2 separate regions of the Homo sapiens genome follow, and region 1 is linked to region 2. Evidence: promoter capture Hi-C in human tissues and cell types (Jung and others, 2019). All regions are on one chromosome and are shown on one strand. Each heading gives the region's core, a stretch centred on a gene start or on the middle of the fragment in contact. The rest is flanking DNA. Distances are from core to core; before and after follow the strand shown.

Evidence for each region. Contacts are between HindIII fragments. The study calls those that stand out against the background at their distance.
Region 1: a contact is called between a fragment that was not itself captured here and the fragment with the promoter of CELA3B in region 2, in 1 of the 25 tissues and cell types used here (dorsolateral prefrontal cortex).

Annotation. Positions count from the first base shown.
Region 1 is chr1:21,682,592-21,686,094 of GRCh38, reverse strand. The region is part of intron 25 of USP48 (ubiquitin specific peptidase 48); the gene reads left to right. Among named protein-coding and RNA genes, the nearest start is that of RAP1GAP, 15 kb to the right of the region's middle. The HindIII fragment of the contact is 4,086 bases long and covers 1-3,497 here.
Region 2 is chr1:21,975,277-21,978,503 of GRCh38, reverse strand. It overlaps CELA3B (chymotrypsin like elastase 3B), which reads right to left and starts at 1,482. Exons shown (of 8, transcript NM_007352.4): 1 at 1,422-1,482; 2 at 50-135. The coding sequence starts at 1,464. The HindIII fragment of the contact is 22,565 bases long and covers 1-3,227 here.

The DNA.
Region 1 (3,503 bases), core at 205-2,704, 290 kb after region 2:
GCCCAGACTGGAGTGCAGTGGCACCATCTCAGCTCACTGCAGCCACCACTCCTGGGTTCAAGCAATTCTTGTGCCTCAGACTCCTGAGTAGCTGGGACTACAGGCATGTGCCATGACACCCAGCTAATTTTTGTATTTTTACTAGAGATGAGGATTTCCCATATTGGCCAGGCTGGTCCCGAACTCCTGGCCCCCTGTGATCTGGCCACCTGGGCCTCCCAAAATGCTAGAATTACAGGCATGAGCCACCATGCCAGGCTGACATGATCTTATATATGTAGAAAAACCTAAAGACGCCACCAAAACACTCTTAAACAACTGATGAACATTCAGTAAAATTGCAGGATACAAAAATCAGTGTACAAAGTGAGTTTCTGTAGTGTAGTGATTATCATGTTTACCTAACAAAAATCAACATACAAAAATTAGCAGCATTACTATACATCAATAAGAACTAGCTGAAAAAGAAATCAAGAAAGCGGCTGGGCGCAGTGGCTCATGCCTGTAATCCCAGCACTTTGGGAGGGTGAGGCAAGTGGAGCAGTTGAAGTCAGGAGTTTGTGACCAGCCTGGCCAACATGGCGAAACCCCATCTCTACTAAAATTACAAAAATTAACCAGGCGTAGTAGCGCATGCCTGTAATCCCAGTTACTAGGGAGGCTGAGGCAGGAGAATTGCTTGAACCCAGTGGATGCAGTGAGCCAAGATCGCAGCACTGCACTCTCTAGCCTGGATGACAGACTCCATCTCAAAAAAAAAAAAAAGAAAAGAAAGCAATTCCAATAATAATAGCTACAAAAAAAAATAAGATTAAATACTTAGGAATAAATTTAACCAAGAAGGTGAAAGACCTCTACAAGGAAAACTACAAAACACTAATGTAAGAAATTGAAAGATGCAAACAAATGGAAAGATATCCTGTGCTCATGGATCAGAAGAATTAATATTGTTAAAATGACCATATTACCCAAAATAACCTGCAGATTAAATGCAATTCCTATCAAAATACCAATGACATTCCTCACAGAAATAGAAAAACACAATCCTAAAATTCATATGGAACCACAAAAGACCCTGAATAGCCAAATCAATCCTCAGCAAAAAGAACAAAGCTGGAGGCATCATGCTACCTGGTTTCAAAATATACTACAAAGCTATGGTAACCTAAACAGCATGGTATTGGTATAAAACATAGGACAATGGAACAGAATAAAGAACCCAAAAATAAATTCACGTATTTACAGCCAACTAATTTATGACAAAGGCACCAAGAACATACACTGGGGAAAGGGCACCCTCTTCACTAGATTTTGCTGGGAAAACTGGATATCGATATGCAGAAAAATGAGACTAGACCTCTGTCTCTCACTATATATTAAAATCAACTCAAAATGGATTAAAGACTTAAATGTAAGACTTGAAACTATGAAATTGCTAGAATTCAATATGGGGGAAATGCTGTCAAACATTGGTCTAGACAGAGATTTTAGCTGAGACCTCAAAGCACAGGGAACAAAACCAAAAATAACCAAATGGACTATATTAAACTAAAAAGCTTCTGCACAGCAAAGGAAATAATCTGCAGAGTTGAAGAGACAACCTGTAGAATGGGAGAAAATATAATCTCATTAAACAGTAGGCAACGGACCTGAACAGACATTTCTCAAAAGAAGACATAAACATGGCCAATAGGTGTATGAAAGATGCTCAGCATCACTAATCATCAGGGAAATGCAAATCAAAATCACAGTGAGATACCATCTTATCAGTTAGCATGGCTATTATCAAAAAGACAATAACATGTAACTAGGATGCAGAGAAAAGGGAACTCTTATACGGACTTTTGGTGGGAATGTAAATTAGTACAGCCATTATGGAAAACAGTATGGAAGTTTCTCAGAAAACTAAAAATATAACTACCATATGATCCAGCAATCCCACTAGTGGTATTTATCCAAAGGAAAAGAAATCAGTGTATCGAAAGGATATTTGCACTCTCATGTTTATTGCAGCACTGTTCACAACAGCCAAGGTATGGAATCAACCTACATGTCCATCAGTAGATGCCTTGATATGTTATATTTATATGTAGACATACAATGGGATACTATTATTCAGCCATTAAAAAAATGAAATCCTGTCATTTGCAGCAACATGGGTGGAACTGGAGGACATTATGTTAAGTGAAATAAGCCAGGCTCAGAAAGACAATACTGTATTTTCTCACTCATACGTAGGAGCTAAAAAAGCTGATCTTTTGGCTGTAGAATGGTAGTTATGAGTGGATGGGAAAGGGGCCATATGAAGGGAGGTTGGTTAATGGGTACAAACATACAATTTGATAGAAAGAATAAGTTCTGGTATTCAGTAGTACAGTAGGGTGATATGTTGTATATTTCAAAAGAGCTAGAAGAAAAGATAATGCAATGTTCCCAACACAAAGAAATGATAGGCCGGGCGCAGTGGATCACTTGAACCCAAGAGTTCAGGACCAACCTGGGCAACATAGTGAGACCCTGTCTCTACTACAAATTTTAAAAAAAGAGCCAGGCATGGTGGCTCGCACCTGTGGTCTCAGATACTTGGGAGGCTGAGGTGGGTGGATTGCTTGAGCCGGGGAGTTGGAGGCTGCAGTGAGCTGTCATCATGCCACTACACTCAAGCCTGGGTGACAGATTGAGACCCTGTCTCAAAAAAGAAGAAATAATAAATATTCAAGGTGATGGAGATAACTAAATACCCTGATGTGATCATTATACACTGTATGCATGTATCAAAATATAAGCTGTTCCCCATAAATATGTACAAATATTATGTTTGGCTTTTATTTTTTATTTTTTATTTTTTTGAGATGGAGTCTCAAAAGGCTGAAGTGCAGTATGGCTCACTGCAACCTCCGCCTCTGGGCTTCAAGTGATTCTCCTGGCTCAGCCTCCTGAGTAGTAGCTGGGACTATAGGCATGCAACACCATGCCTGGCTAACTTTTGTATTTTTGGTAGAGACGGGGTTTCACTATATTCGCCAGGCTGGTCTCAAATTCCTGTCGTCAGGTGATCTGCCCATCTCGGCCTCCCGAAGTGTTTGGATTACAGATGTGAGCTATTGCACCTGGCCTTGTTTGTATTTTTTTTAAAGCTGGTTCATGTCCCAGGCACCCTTTAGTCAATCCCACCAGTGCCCACTGAACAGAGCTTTCAGACATCTTTTTTTTTTTTTTTCTGAGATGGAGTCTCACAGTTGCCCAAGCTGGAGTGCAGTGGCATGATCTTGGCTCACTACAATCTCCCCGTCCTGGGTTCAAGCGATTCTTCTGCCTCAGCCTCCCAAGTAGCTGGGACTACAGGCGCCTGCCACCATGCCCAGCTAATTTTTGTATTTTTAGTAGGGACAGAGTTTCACTATGTTGTCCAGGCTGCTCTGGAACTCGTGACCTCATGATCCGCCTGCCTCGGCCTCCCAGTGTGCTGAGATTACAGGCGTGAGCCACTACGCCTGGCCCAC
Region 2 (3,227 bases), core at 233-2,732:
AGGGTCCAGAGCCCACGGTGGGAATGAGGGCAGCTGCTATTGCTCTTACCTGCCAGGGCCAGCTGTAGGGGACCGCATCCTCACCATTGACAACGCGGCTGGAAGGGCGAGAGGAAGGTGGGCCATAGCCTGAGGCTAGAGGGGAGAGGAGAGCTGTCAATCAGCGGGAGGGTCCCCAAAAGCAAAGAGGAGGCCAGGGTCCCAGTCCAAGCCGTGCCTTCAAGTGGCTGTGTGACCCCATGCAAGCCCCTTTCGCCCTCTGGACCTCAGTAACCACATATGAATAGTGAACATTTAAACTAGAGCAGGGCTTTCCAGAATCCCAAGACTCCAGGGATAGAGATTCAAATGTGGCCTCCTTCATTGGGAGGATTGAAGAGCTTGATACACTTAGAACAATGCCTGGCCCTCAATGAGCCCTCAAAAAGTGAGAGCTATTGTCATACAGAGTGGAGGCTTTAAAGAAGGACTTCCTGGGTTCAAAGTGCAGCTCTGGGCTGTGTGTGGTGGTTCACACCTGTAATCCTAGTGCTTTGAGAGGCCGAGGCGGGAGGATCGCTTGAGCCCGGGAGTTTGAGACCAGCCTGGGCAACATAGCAAGACCTCATCTCTAGAAAAATAAAGTACAATAAAATAAAGTAGCCAGGTATGGTGGCATGTGCCTATAATCTCAGCTACTCAGGAGGCTAAGGTGGTAGGATTGCTTGAGGCCAAGATTTTGAGACCAGTCTGGGCAACAAAGCAAGACCCCATCTCAACAAAAAAAAAAGCAAAAAATAAAAACATTAAGTGCAGCTCTGCCTTTTGTTCTATGATAAGCTACTTTACTTCCTTGAGGGTCGGTAAAATGGGGAAAATGATAGTACTGATCTCCTGAGGCTGTTGTGAGAATTACATGAGAAAGTATAAGGAAAACCCTAAACATTCTGCCTGGCATAGTAAGCACTCAATCAATGTTATCTGTTACCATTATTGTCAGTCAAGGGAGGCTGCTTGGAAGAGGTGGCCCTGAGCTGGAATGTAATATGGCAGAGAGACCAGGAAAAGGCCAGAGCATAGAATATGGAGCCAGGTAGGGGGAGTGTGAGAGGAGAGTTGGAGTGGTAAGCAGAACAGTGGAAATTCCAACCCAAGAAGTCCAACCACACAGCCCAAACTCTTAACCGTTTGACTTTGTTTACTGCCCCCATCAAGGACTTCCACCACAGCCCTTTGGGGTCTTTCTCCATCCACGGCTTCCCCTCCACTCTCCTGCTCCATCATAAGCTGAAAGCCCCCACAGTCATGCCCCCGGGTACAAGCTGAGACCCCCTCCTGTGGAACCAGGCATAGGGTGTCATGGGACTTAGAGCAAGTGGTAGATTTCAAGGATTCCTAATCTAGGGCAGCCCAGGGAGCACACACACAGGTTGGGGTCTTACCAACGGCCACAAGGAGGAGGGAACTGAGCAGCCGGAGCATCATGAGTTTTGCGATGATAGGAAAAGGGCACAGAACCTGGGGCTCTAATATAGGGCAGAAGGTAAGCAAAGGGGGCTGACTGGGCCCCACTCCCAGAACAGGTGGTGGAAATGCAGGTCTCCCATGGTCCAAGGCCACAGTTCTCACTCACTGCAGATGGAGGAGTGACAGCCAAAGGAAGGACCTAGCGTTCCCTCCAACAGGTGGCCGCACAGGTGGTGTGGAGTGGCCAACTGATAACAAGAGTTCAGGAAGAAAAGCTCATGTCAGGACAAGACCTCCTCTTTCGGAAAGAACAGGGGCACTGGAACCGGGCAGACCACGGTTCAATCCTGGTTCTGCCACCTCCAAGCTCTGCGACTTTGGGCGCATGGCTTAACCTCTCTGAGTCTCAGTTTTCTGCTCTCTAACATGAGATTTATATTAGTACCCACCTCCACAAAAAATTTTTTGTTGAGCACTTTTTCTCTATGTATCAGGCACTGTTCTAGGGGATACAGCTGTGAAAAATACATGGTCTCAGCCCTTCTAGAGTTTGAGTCTAGGCCAGGAGCGGTGGCTCACACCTGTGATCCCAGCGCTTTGGGAGGCCAAGGTGGGAGGATCAATTGAGGTCAGAAGTTTGAAACATGGTGAAACCTTATCTCTACTAAAACTACAAAAATTAGCAGGCGTGGTGGTGGGCACCTATAATCCCAGCACCGGTAATCCTAGCTACTGTGAGCCTGAGGGAGGAGAATCATTTGAACCCAGGAGGCAGGGAGGCAGAGGTTGCAGTGAGCCGAGATCATGCCACTGCACTCCTGCCTGGGCCACAGAGCAAGACTGTCTCAAAAACAAACAAACAAACAAACAAAACAGAAAAGAAAATGGGGCGGGCACGGTGGCTCACGCCTGTAATCCCAGCACTTTGGGAGGCTGAGGTGGGTGGATCACGAGGTCAGGAGATCGACACCATCCTGGCTAACACGGTGAAACCCCGTCTCCACTAAAAATACAAAATGTTAGCCGGGCGAGGTGGCGGGCGCCTGTAGCCCCAGCTACTCAGGAGAGTGAGGCAAGAGAATGGCGTGAACCCCAGGGGGCAGAGCCTGCAGTGAGCCAAGATGGCGCCCCTGCACTCCAGCCTGGGCGACAGCGAGACTCCGTGTCAAAAAAAAAAAAAGAAAATGAAAATGGGTGATTGGGGTAGGAATGGAGTAAGTCATTTAGATGAGGGGGACAGAGAAAGTGACATTTGGGCTGAGGAGGTCATATCTGATGGAGTCCTGAGGATAAGTAAAAGCCAGCAACGGGAATCCCTGAAAGAAACGCGTTCTGAAGGGAGGCGACAGCAGGTGCGAAGTTCTGGAGGCTGCAATGGGCTTGGCTTGTTCAAGGAAAGGGAGGCCAGTGTGACAGGAGCTTGGTAGTCAAAGTAGAGAGGGGTGGGAGATGAGGTCAAAGAGCAGGCAACCCCGAAAGTGGAATTCACAGGTGATCCAGCGGTTTCCCTCCTAGGTCTACACCGTGAGAAAACCTTAGGCATGTGCTCCAGGAGGTGTGGATGAGATTGTTTGCCGCAGCCCCTGTTCTCAAACCTCAACAGCAAAGACCTAGAAACAACTCCCACGTCCATCAAGGTTCATAGGTCAATATGTGTAGCATATTCACACAATAGATTTTTTTTTTTTATAGTGGTGCGATCTTGGCTCACTGCAACCTCCACCTCACGGGTTCAAGCGATTCTCCTGCCTCAGCCTCCCGAGTAGCTGGGATTACAGGCG